Linked DNA regions of Homo sapiens: region 2 is linked to region 1. The links are contacts of gene promoters, found by promoter capture Hi-C in human tissues and cell types (Jung and others, 2019). All regions are on one chromosome and are shown on one strand. The core of a region is centred on a gene start or on the middle of the fragment in contact, and the rest is flanking DNA. Distances in the headings are between cores, read along the strand shown.

The links. Contacts are between HindIII fragments. The study calls those that stand out against the background at their distance.
Region 2: a contact is called between the fragment with the promoter of SPDYC here and the fragment with the promoter of MAP3K11 in region 1, in 1 of the 25 tissues and cell types used here (spleen).

What each region holds. Positions count from the first base shown.
Region 1 is chr11:65,611,738-65,617,797 of GRCh38, reverse strand. It overlaps MAP3K11 (mitogen-activated protein kinase kinase kinase 11), which reads left to right and starts at 3,577. Exons shown (of 10, transcript NM_002419.4): 1 at 3,577-4,780. The coding sequence starts at 4,042. PCNX3 (pecanex 3) reads right to left here and starts at 2,022. Exons shown (of 35, transcript NM_032223.4): 1 at 1,334-2,022; 2 at 787-974; 3 at 449-548; 4 at 289-328; 5 at 92-187. The coding sequence starts at 1,486. RefSeq lists silencers at 1,528-1,777, 3,788-3,967 and enhancers at 2,398-2,487, 2,548-2,597, 2,480-3,366, 3,108-3,537, 4,255-5,142 and 2 more. The HindIII fragment of the contact is 27,885 bases long and covers 1-6,060 here.
Region 2 is chr11:65,166,951-65,173,010 of GRCh38, reverse strand. SPDYC (speedy/RINGO cell cycle regulator family member C) reads right to left here and starts at 2,778. Exons shown (of 7, transcript NM_001008778.3): 1 at 2,750-2,778; 2 at 1,512-1,684; 3 at 1,010-1,068; 4 at 680-765; 5 at 406-577; 6 at 1-327. The coding sequence starts at 1,653. The HindIII fragment of the contact is 3,474 bases long and covers 1,708-5,181 here.

The DNA.
Region 1 (6,060 bases), core at 2,328-4,827:
AGGAGACCCAGGATGGAGCCAAAGTTGAGGGGATTCAACAACGAAACAGCTGGTCTAGCCCACAAGCCTCGGCCCCATAAGGCCCACGCACTCAGTTTCTCCTGCGAGCTGAGCTTCAGCATCTCTCGGTCGGCAGAAGTCACGATCACATTGTTGCTGCCCTGCTCCCGCACCAGCTCCTTGATGTCTGCAACCATGGCCCCAGAGGTGTCAGCAGGACCCCCTGGCACAGCACGCCAGCCCCTGTTCCACAGCACTATGCTCCAACCCTGAAGAGCAGCCACCTACCTCTAAGGGGCCCAGAGTCCTCCATTCGGGGCAGCAGCTCCTGAGTAGACAGAGAGCCATGAAGGAACAAACAAGGCAAGAAGTAGGCTCAGGATGCACCCACAGTAGGGACTGGCTCGCAGAGGGACAGGAGGACAAGCTGAGGTCCAGGCCCACTCACCGAGACCTGGTTGAAGCCAAACACAGAGTGCTGGGAGCTGCAGCGCACCGGGGGTGTGGAACTGACTTTCCGGAACACTGTCATCTCCACTCCGGGGTCCCTGGCGGTGAAAAAGAGCAGCAGCTTTGAGCTAACCTCTCCTCTGTGTATGCTACTTCCTCCCATCTTTGTCACTGCTTCTTTTTCAGAAGTCACTTTACAATTCCAGGGCTAACACAGGACAAGTGTTCACAATCACTCAGAGAGCCAATGTTCCCTAAGCCCCTACTCCACCCTGCAAGGTTCCGGCCCAGGCACCAAAAACCCTCAATCCCCAGCACAGCCCCTACCCCACCCACCTGGGTGGATTGCTGTCCCCCTGGGCAGGCTCTTCCTCCAGCTCCCCCATGGTAGAGCTGCGCTTCTCCACGATCTCGCCCTGGTCAAACATGGCATGAAGCCGATAATTGACAGTCTTGATAGTAGCAAAGATGACAGCCACCACGAGGCAGTACACGCCGGCCACCATCAAGCTGGGAGGCAGGACCTGAAGATGAAAGTAAGCCAGGTCCCTTTTCACAAAGCCTCGCCCCCACAGGATGTACCTGCCATCAACATCATAGCTGGGATTCACAGACTCACAAGAAAATTTCATCACCTCTCCACACAACCAGTACACAGACCTCGACAAAGGGCTCTGTATTCTGCTTAGCTGGATGAGATTAAGTGTAGGGTTCAAGGTCACTCGATCCAAGAAAGGAAGACTTTGGCCCCTCTTCCACACAGACCCAAACTCTGCAGTGATTCCTCTCTCTCCACGTCCCAGAGCCCAGGGCACTGCCCTGAATCCCTGCCAGGCTGCCCTCCCTCTCCCGGCTGGAGTTACAGGTGGCCGTGGCGTCTCACCATGTACAGTAAGAAGGGAAAGATGAGCAGGAAGATCCAGACATAGAGGTGGAAGCAGTTGGAGAAGGTGCTCTGGTGCGGGTCGAAGAACCAACCGCCGGTGAGCGAGGCCCACACCCCCTGGCGCAGGATCTGCAACACCTGCGACCCCATGGCCCCGCCGCTGCTGCCCGCGCCCCCCCTCCCGGGACCCTCATGGGGGCGGCCCCCGGCCCATGCCCCGTCTGGCGCCTGAGGGCCCCGGGGCCCGGCCTCACGCTCACGCCATGGCCTCCCCCAGCGGGGGAGGGGGGCTCGGCCGCGCGAGGGTGCGAGCAGGGGGCGGGGCCGGCCGGGACAGTCAGTGGTGCAAGGCCCGGACGCGGGGGTGGGGCTGCATCAGGGGCGGGGTCCGGGTCCCCACTCCTGGCCCAGAATTGCTCCGAGGGGCCGAGCCGGCAGGCAGGCGCGGGGCACGGGCCGGGTACCCGTCGGCGGCATCCAGAGGTGGTCGTGGGGTGGGTGCTCCCGGGGTGCAGGCGACAGCTCCCTAGTCTCCGGACCAGGGAGAACCCCAGGATCTGGGGTCCACTTTCGGGGTCGCAGGTCACTTGCTTGGGGCTCCGCGCTCGCCCGGCTTCTGCTGGTGCCGGCCTAAGGAGGAGGCCGGAAGAAGGAGCCGCGAACCGCCAGCCTGCAGTGGCGCATGCGCCCAACGATTCCAATTGGGACCCGGAAAAGGAAAACTTGACGGCATGAATGCGCAAGCGCAGAAAGGTGATGGCGCGGTAGGACGCGAGGGGTGCCCTTTGGGCGTGCGCAGACTCCAGGACTAAAGCAAGTTCGAGCGTAAAAGCGTTTGGGCGCATGCGTAGACCCAGGCGTTGCCAACCCAGGGTAGACGACTGGGCGGAACCAAAGAGACAGTTGAGTAGCCATTGGGTAACGGCAAAGTAATTGGCGCACAGCTCTTCCAATGAGTTACAGGAGGCGGGGAAAAGGTGGAGGCGTGGACTCCCCTAGTAGCAGCGAGAGTTCTGCACTACCGAAGCACGCCCCTCTCGGCCCGCCCCCTTTAATGCTGGACCTCGTACGTCACGACCGATTTCGCTCCCAGCGGCGTCTACTTCCGGGTCAGAGCTCAGACCTAGGGTGTAGAGAACAACCTTCCGTAACAGGCAGGAATAGTCGAAATAGGATAGCGTCGTCTTTCTTAAAGTGACAGGCTCAAAGCAATTGGGGCAGCCCTATCCAGAAGTTGTGAGGGCGACTCAGCTATTCTGAATCCAATCCTGGGCAAAGTTCTGGACAAGTCTCAGGTTTCTGCCAATGGGGAAGGGATATGAAGAAGCGGATTGTTTCCCAGGTGAGGAGAAGAAGAGAGCCTTAGGCAATCCACTCCAAGAGCTTGAGGTGCAGCCAGTTCCGTCTGTCCTCCAGTCTTCCCCACCCCATCCAACTAGCTCTACGAGGCAGAGCTTTCTCGTCCTCATATCATATATGAAAAGAATGGCCGGGCGCGGTGGCTCACGCCTGTAATCCCAACACTTTGGGAGGCCGAGGCGGGAGGATCACGAGGTCAGGGGTTTGAGACCAGCATGGCCAACATGGTGAAACCCGTCTCCACTAAAAATACAAAAATTAGCCGGCCGTGGTGCCACGCGCCGGTAGTCCCAGCTACTCGGGAGGCTGAGGCAGGAGAATCTCTTGAACCCGGGAGGCGGAGGTTGCAGTGAGCTTAGACTGCGCCATTGCATACCAGCCTGGGCGACAGAGCAAGACTCCGTCTCAAAAGAAGAAAAAAGAAAGAAAATAATGAGGCTCAGAATCGATGGATCGCACAGTCCCACAACTTCGCAGCCAAGACCAGACTCGGGTTCACCCCCTTCCCAAGTGTGGTTCTGTAACCCCGTTTTGCTGCCGCCGATGCGGATGCAGAGGGCAGAGATGGCCCATCCTTAGCAGAGACCAACCTCCACCCTAGGCAGCAGAGCACGCAGCTGGGGGCTTTTCTTTCTAGATCTCAAAAGCCTGCTGTGATGGGGGATCTGGTTCTGCCCTTTCCCTCTCTGCCTCTCCTGGCCCGCCTACCCGGGAACTCCCCGCCTGGAGCCTCTGGGAGGGGAGCGGTGCAGGCCGCCCGCGTCATCTGATGCTGTTTCCTGCAGGAGGGAGAAGAGCGGAAAAAAGTGAAACTCCACCCTCCACCTCTGCCTCCCGCCCCCGGGGCCAAAGTACAAAGGGAGGAGGAAGAAGGGAGCGGGGTCGGAGCCGTCGGGGCCAAAGGAGACGGGGCCAGGAACAGGCAGTCTCGGCCCAACTGCGGACGCTCCCTCCACCCCCTGCGCAAAAAGACCCAACCGGAGTTGAGGCGCTGCCCCTGAAGGCCCCACCTTACACTTGGCGGGGGCCGGAGCCAGGCTCCCAGGACTGCTCCAGAACCGAGGGAAGCTCGGGTCCCTCCAAGCTAGCCATGGTGAGGCGCCGGAGGCCCCGGGGCCCCACCCCCCCGGCCTGACCACACTGCCCTGGGTGCCCTCCTCCAGAAGCCCGAGATGCGGGGGGCCGGGAGACAACACTCCTGGCTCCCCAGAGAGGCGTGGGTCTGGGGCTGAGGGCCAGGGCCCGGATGCCCAGGTTCCGGGACTAGGGCCTTGGCAGCCAGCGGGGGTGGGGACCACGGGCACCCAGAGAAGGTCCTCCACACATCCCAGCGCCGGCTCCCGGCCATGGAGCCCTTGAAGAGCCTCTTCCTCAAGAGCCCTCTAGGGTCATGGAATGGCAGTGGCAGCGGGGGTGGTGGGGGCGGTGGAGGAGGCCGGCCTGAGGGGTCTCCAAAGGCAGCGGGTTATGCCAACCCGGTGTGGACAGCCCTGTTCGACTACGAGCCCAGTGGGCAGGATGAGCTGGCCCTGAGGAAGGGTGACCGTGTGGAGGTGCTGTCCCGGGACGCAGCCATCTCAGGAGACGAGGGCTGGTGGGCGGGCCAGGTGGGTGGCCAGGTGGGCATCTTCCCGTCCAACTATGTGTCTCGGGGTGGCGGCCCGCCCCCCTGCGAGGTGGCCAGCTTCCAGGAGCTGCGGCTGGAGGAGGTGATCGGCATTGGAGGCTTTGGCAAGGTGTACAGGGGCAGCTGGCGAGGTGAGCTGGTGGCTGTGAAGGCAGCTCGCCAGGACCCCGATGAGGACATCAGTGTGACAGCCGAGAGCGTTCGCCAGGAGGCCCGGCTCTTCGCCATGCTGGCACACCCCAACATCATTGCCCTCAAGGCTGTGTGCCTGGAGGAGCCCAACCTGTGCCTGGTGATGGAGTATGCAGCCGGTGGGCCCCTCAGCCGAGCTCTGGCCGGGCGGCGCGTGCCTCCCCATGTGCTGGTCAACTGGGCTGTGCAGATTGCCCGTGGGATGCACTACCTGCACTGCGAGGCCCTGGTGCCCGTCATCCACCGTGATCTCAAGTCCAACAACAGTGAGTTTCTGGGGGCATGGTTGGGGGTGGCATGGCTCTGGTACACACCTGCTCCCAACCTTCCACTGAGCCTAGCTTAGGGTCTACTGCAGGTAGGAGCTCCCACCCTAGGGGGTCCCAGCTGACCAGGGGTGCCCATGGGCTCAAGCTAGCCCCCAAACAGAGCCCCAGGCACCCAGCAGAGTCTTCCTGCGCCAGCTTCAGAAGTCCTTGACCCCAGCCTGCAGCTGCGGTTTGGACAAGTTAAGAAATTGGTATCTCTCAGGTGGGCCATAAGCATCCTGCCCAGCCATGGCTCCCACCTCAAGGAAGTCCTCTGGAAGCTCGTGCTCCTCATCTTCTCCTCCCCTAAATTCATGTTCGTGGAGTTGGTGCTCTGTCCTCCCCTCCCGTCGTCATGGGCAGCTCCTCCAGAACAGATATCTCAGAGAGGGAAGCCCTCCTTGGCAGTCAAGGCTAAGGCCAGGGCTGGAATTCTGGCCTAGCCCTCCCTGGCTTCATGACCTCTAGCTGGTTACTCCAACTCGGAGCCTCAATTTCAGAATCTGTAAAAAGGGAGAGTGAAACAGCTCAACAGCTTGGGCAAGCCCGACCTGCGATCCCCAACCCACAGCGGGTCCTCAGCCATGGAGATGGACATTTGAGGGCTGGATCGCCAAGAGGGCCTAGCCTGAAATCAGTGCTTGGGATGGGAGTGCTGGGCTAAGGGAGACTCCATCTCCCATCATTTCAAGCCCCCGACACGCTGCCCATCATGGCCCAAGAGAAGTGAGTGACAGCTTCAGAGGGTTTCCTGGTGCACGCAGCATTTAGAGAGAGAAGGCATGGAAGCAGGACCCAGCACACAGCAGGGACCAGGAGCAGGGGCCTCCTAGAGCCCAGAGTGCAGGCTGGAGAGCAGCAGTAGGAAATGCAGGAGGGGCCAGGCTCAGTGTGGTCACTGGAAAAGCATGAGACATTCTTAGAGGGGGGTCAACGTGGATATTTTGAGCCTCCTGGCCTGGGCTGACCATGGACAAGGGGCTTGCAGGAAACAGAGTGCTGAGCCCCAGATATCCAAGTTCTTGCCAGGACTGGGGGAGCCAGGAGAGGCCTGCCAACCATCCTACCCACTCTTCTCATCCCTGGTAGGGTGCGGTTCCCACCTCTCAGCCTCAACCCTGGGCTCTAACTATCTAGGGACCCCCGCTACCTGCCCCAATCTGAGGGGGATTCCCCGAAGGCACAGGGGGAGGGGACTCCCATCTTCTGTTTTTCCTCCGTTTTCTTTCCAGAAAAAA
Region 2 (6,060 bases), core at 1,529-4,028, 440 kb after region 1:
GAGGGAGTAGGTGCCTGGTTCCAGTTGCATCTGGGGAGGCAAGACGATGAGAAAGTCCCCACCCCAGGCGTTTTTGACCCTTGAGAGATAATTTTGGGAGGGAGGGCGATGACATTCAGAGGTCAGAGAAGGGCACTTGGATGACACAGGCTTAAGCAAGTGGCTGCTGCAGTGCTGGGGCAAACCACAGGGGGAACAGTGGGGCGGCGAGAGGCCAGGGCCCCGGGGAAGGCGAACAGGGACCTGTGGACAGACCCTCTGAACCCCACCATGGTGGGGGCGCCGGTCCCGAGTCCAAGCCCAGTGGAATGGCTCCTTTGCCATGACCTGGGAGGAGCAGAGTGGACAGTAAATGGGGTGGGAACCCCAGCCTTCCCCACACCCCAGGTTGCCTCCCAGCCTCACCTCCTCACAGCACTGGCGGCTCACAACAGCCCGGAAACCCATCCGTGCCCAAAGCTTATCCCTCTGGTGCAGGAATTTCCCCACTCGTAAACACCAATCTTTTCCCAGGGCCCATGGAAAAATCTCACATTTGGGGCCCTCCAGGTCCTCCTCCATGTCGTTTGCAAGGTACCTAGCCACAGAGGCACAAGGTCAGGGAGCAGAGGCCACACATCTGCCCTGTCCCATCTGACACCTCCAGCAAATGCCTCCACTGCCTGCCCCCACCACTCACAGGGCCAAGAACAGGCTGCTGTGGGTATACTCGCTGAGCTTCAGGTGGGCGCGCTGGAAGTAGACCAGCACCATGGCCAGGAGATACTGCAGAGACAGATCGGGGTGGGGGGTTAGTTATTCTCTGAGGAGGAGGGGCTTGCACCCAGGTTCATTTGCACCCAGGGAGGTTTTGCTGCAGGGAAAGAAAGTCAGTAAAATGGTGGGAAGTGGTGTGCAAAGATGAGGGGGTAAGGATGGAAGGTGAGTGGCTCTCCCTACCAGACCAGGGCACTCAATTCCCACCAACTCAACCTGACCCTCAAGAGACCCCCAGCCTGTACTCCCTCACCTTATCTGAAATCTGGAAGCAGGGGTCTTTGGAGAGGAATTCCTGGACAAAACTGTCCTCTGAGGGTAGAGAAGACATGACAGGACGCAGGTTACCACCACCTCCATGGAGAAGAGTGGCATCAGAAGCTCCAAAGCCCAAGCCACCACTGAACCCTCTCTCTCTTTCTCTTTTTCTCCCTTTTTCTCTTTCTCTCTCTCTTTCTTAATATAAATAGAAATGGAGTCTCACTATGTTGACCAGGCTGGTCTTGAACTCCTGGCCTGAAGTGATACTCCCATTTCAGCCTCCCAAAATGTTGGGATTATAGGTATGACTCACGGTGCCTGGCCCTGAATCCAGTTTCTGAGAGGACACCCCTCCCACCTGCCTAAGCTGGGATACCTGAGAGGGAGAGGGTCAGAGGTCTCAGATGTCTGTACAGGCAGGTGAGACCCCACACTTCACATCTGCTTTCACACTTGACCTCACGGCCCCTCCCGTGCCAGCCCTCCAAACTCACCCAGAAGGCTGAGGAAGGCCTGGACCTCCTGGTGCTGGCGAAAACGGAGGAACCCATTGCCCCCACCTTGCCGGCTGCAGCCCCCCAGCTCTACCTGGGTGGTAACTACAGGGGAAGTGGTGGGGTCTTGGGAGTCACTCATCTCATAGGAGATGGAGATGGGGCAGGGTGACCTGTAGAGAAAGGAGGCTCAGGACTTAGCATGTACCCCCGTGATGCTCACAAATCAAGAGGGTGGTGACAGGGGCCAGGACGGTGGAGGGGTGGGTGCAGAGACTTGGGGGCTCAGAACAGAAGGCAGCCGGGATGCAACAAGAGTGGGGAGGCCAGAAAAGAAGCAAAGAGTTGCTATAGGTGAGGGTGTGGCACCCTCACCCTCCTCCTGGCACCCCAGGACAGGCCAGAGTAACAGCAGCAACAAGCACCGCTGAGGGCTTCCTAAGTGCCTGGGGCTGTGCTTAAGGGCCTTATCTTATTCCATCCTGGTAAGGAGGTAAGTTTAACTCAGACCGGTCGTCAAACGAGGAAACTGAAGCTGAGGCCTAACAGCCGGTTAAAAGTGAAGCCCTTGGTCTCCAAAACCCCAAGAGGTTTTTTGGTTTTTGTTTGTTTGTTTTGAGACACAGTCTCTCTCTGTCGCCCAGACTGGAGTGCAGTGGCGCGATCTCGGCTCACTGCAACCTCCGCCTCCCGGGTTCAACTGATTCTCCAGCCTGAGCCTCCCGAGTAGCTGGGATTACAGGCATGCGCCATGCCACCACGCCCGGCTAATTTTTTTTGTATTTTTTTGGTAGAGACAGGGTTTCACCGTGTTGGCCAGGCTGGTCTCACACTCCTGACCTCCCAAAGTGCTGGGATTGCAGGCGTGAGCCACTGCGCCTGGCCAAAAAAAAAGAAAAAAAAAACCCAAGAGTTTAACTGCTCCTCTAGGCCCCAACTCACAACCACCCCCGACCCCTCACCAAAGCAGAGTTGAAAGGGCCACTGATCCCTTACACCGAGGGGAAACTGAGGCCCTCAGGGAGGAATGAAATTAGAAAAATACCTGGATTTAGAGCAAGTTGATGGGGCCACTTCAAACATTTCAAGCTCCCGTCCTAAACCCACCCTCATCCCTGAGAGAGAGAAGCCAACCACGGGGCCGAGGAGAACGTGCGGTCGACCACCCCAGGGCCAATCTGGGCCCCTCCATCTAGGCGCCCGCAAGCAACCCAGCCTCCTCCTGCAGCGAGCCTTACCCGAGCTCAGGAATGGCCCAGAGCATAACACCAACGCCGCCGCGAGTGCGCTTATATAGCCTGAGGGCGGCCCTGCCCAAAGCAGCCCGTCCACCAATCAGGGCCTTCCTGGGGGGCGAGGCTTGGCCTTCACCGCCTGCCTCTCTGCCAGTGAGTCCAGTCGGCACCCAGCTGTGGCTCCCCAGGGTTTGAAAGCCTCTCCAAAGCTTCATCAACTACAAGAGGGGTGAAGGCAGGCCAGCTGGACCCCAGGGCCTAAGGCCCCATAGGACAGGCAGGGAGCTAGGATCCCTGTTCCCCTCTTGACAAATGCAGCGCCAAGGTGCTGAGCCGGGATATGAGACCCGGACTGCGAGGGCCTGGTGGGCGAGTTTTTTTTCATTGATTGTGCCTTGCTAGGGCAGGGTCTCTGGCTCTCTATGGGTGTCTCTGAATCTCCTGGCCTCCTTGAGTCTCTAGGTTTCACTGAGGCCCCCCGAGTCTCTCTTTTGTTTCTTATTTTATTTTTCCCCTCGTAACACAGAACAAGCTGCCTGGGTCTCAGTGGGCCTCTGAGTCTCTCAGTTTCTTGTTGCCTCTGGTGTCTGGATGTCTGTGGATCTCTGGGTCCTTTGTTTTCTCTCTGATCTCTGGTCTCTGGTGTATCTGCTGTTTCATGGTCTCCCCCAGGCCGCCTCCCAGGCTCCCTGAGGCCGTGAAGGCCTTTCTAGACCAGCTGGTCTGCATCAGGCCATCCTGTTTGTGTGTGTGCACGCATTTGAAGTCGGCCTCCCCTAGAAAGGAAGTAGTGAGTGGGGCAGCATCCATAGCCCGTTCACTAAACACCTACTGCTGCCTACTGAGGAGTCTGTGATGGAATCAGCTCACGTGTTCCTCACAGCAAGCCCGTGAAGTTGATGAGAATGATGAGAAGCCTCATTTTGTCAGCGAACAAACAACTAACACACAGAGTTTGGGTTGCTGACCGACAGGCTGAGTAACTTCCTGCCAGCCACTCAGCTGGTAAGTAGAGATAGAGTTCCAGCCTGGCTGCTGGGCCCACACGCTGGGTAGCCTGGCTGTGTGGTCTACAGCTGTTCCTGGACGCTGCCTGCACAGAGAAGGTGTTCCATGAAACCGAATGAATCTCCTAGACCAGCTGTGTTTTCAACTGTTCTCCTCCTCCCCCAGTAATTAAGGTTAGAGATCAGGAAGGTGTACCAAAAAGAAGCCTGGGAGTGGGCTAGTCACTTTAACTTTGGGAGGGCCTTCAGGCTGATTTCCTTCAGTGCCACCCCTGGAGATCTGACACCGATCTCCCACACTGGGGAGAATATTTGTTTTTACTTTTTTTTTTTTTTTTTTTGAGACGGAGTCTCGCTGTGTTGCCCAGGCCGGAGTGCAGTGGCCCAATCCCGGCTCCCTGCAACTTCCACCTCCAGGGCTCAAGCAATTCTCCTGCCTCAGCCTCCCGAGTAGCTGGGACTACAGGCATGTGCCGCCATGCCTGGCAATTTTTTTGTTTTGTTTTGTTCTCCTGACCTCATGATCCACCCGCCTTGGCCTCCCAGAATGCTGGGATTACAGGCATGAGCCACCATGCCCAGCCTTTCTCTTTCACTTTTCAGAATCCCATGATTCACTGGGCTCTTCAATCTGCCCAGATAATCTCCCCATCTCAAGATCCTTAACTTGGCTGGGAGAGGTGGCTTACCCCTGTAATCCCAGCATTGTGGGAGGCAGAGGAGAGCAGATCACCTGAGGTCAGGAGTTCAAGACCAGCCTGGTAAACATGGCAAAACCCCTCCTCTACTAAAAATACAAAAATTAGCGGGGCATGGTGGTGCATGCCTGTAATCCTAACTACTCGGGAGGCTGAGGCAGGAGAATTGCTTGAGCCCTGGGGGTGGAGGTTGCAGTGAGCTGAGATCATGCCATTGCACTCCAGTCTGGGCAACAGAGCAAGACTTGGTCTCAAAAAAAGATCCTTAACCATCTGCAAAGTCTTTTTTGCCATGTGAGATAACATATTCTCAGGTCTGGGAAGTGAAATGTAGCCATCTTTGGGAGTCCATTATTCTGCCTGCTACAATTATCACAGCAAAATTTATTCTATGCTAACTAATATACTATTTATAAAATTTATATTCATGTAAATGTATATATAATTTGTAAAATCATATATTAATATTGCATGCTATAAAGGATACACGTAAAAGGATATAAAAGAATACACATAAAACATAATAACATACTACCAGCTCAAAAAATATATATATGGCCAGGTCCATTGGCTCACGCCTATAATCTCAGCACTTTTTGGAGGCCGAGACAGGAGGATCATTTGAGTTCAGGAGTTAGAGACTAACCTGGGCAATACATCAAGGCCCCATCTCTACCAAAAATAAACTAGCCTGGCATGGTGGCACGTGACTGCAGTCCTATCTACTCAAGAGGCTGAGGTGGGAGGATCACTTGAGCCCAGGAGTTCAAGGCTGCAGTGAGCTATTATCATGCCATTCTACCCAGCCTGGGTGACACAGCAAGACCCTGTCTCTAAAACATGAATAAATAAATAAATAAGAATATTAAAAATTTCAAAATATAAAGATAGAAAAAATAATATGCAATTACTAAAAGAAAGCTGGGATAACTACACTAATATATTAAAACAACTTTAGGCCGGGCGCGGTGGCTTATGCCTGTAATCCCAGCACGTTGGGAGGCCGAGGCAGGTAGATCATTTGAGGTCAGGAGTTCAAGACCAGCCTGGCCAACATGGTGAAATTCCATTTCTACTAAAAATACAAAAATTAGGTGGGTGGTAGTGGCGAATGCCTGTAATCCCAGCTACTTGGGAGGCTGTGGCAGGAGAATCGCTTGAGCCTAGAAGGCAGAGGTTTTGGTGAGCCAAGATTGTACCACTGCACTCCAGCCTGGGTGACAGAGTGAGAACTTGTCTCAAAAAAAAAAAAAAACAAAAAACAAACAAAAAAACACAACTTTGGACAAAAAGCATAACTAGGGAGAAAGAGAATTTATGTAGTGATTTTAAAAATATACAGCCGGATGTGGTGGTGTGCACCTGTAGTGCTGGTCTGGGCAACATAGGGAGATCCTGTCGGTAAGAAGAGGAGGGGAAGGAGGGGAGGGAAAATAAAGGAAAGGAAAGAGGCAGGAAGAGAAAAATAAAAGGAAAAAGGAAGGAGAAGAAAGAAAGAAGGGAGGGAGGGAAGGAAGGAAGAAAAAAAAGTGTATAATTACCTAACCAGAATCCAGGTAAAGAAAAAAATATATAGTAATTTGTTTACTCCTAAAAATAAAGTCAATAA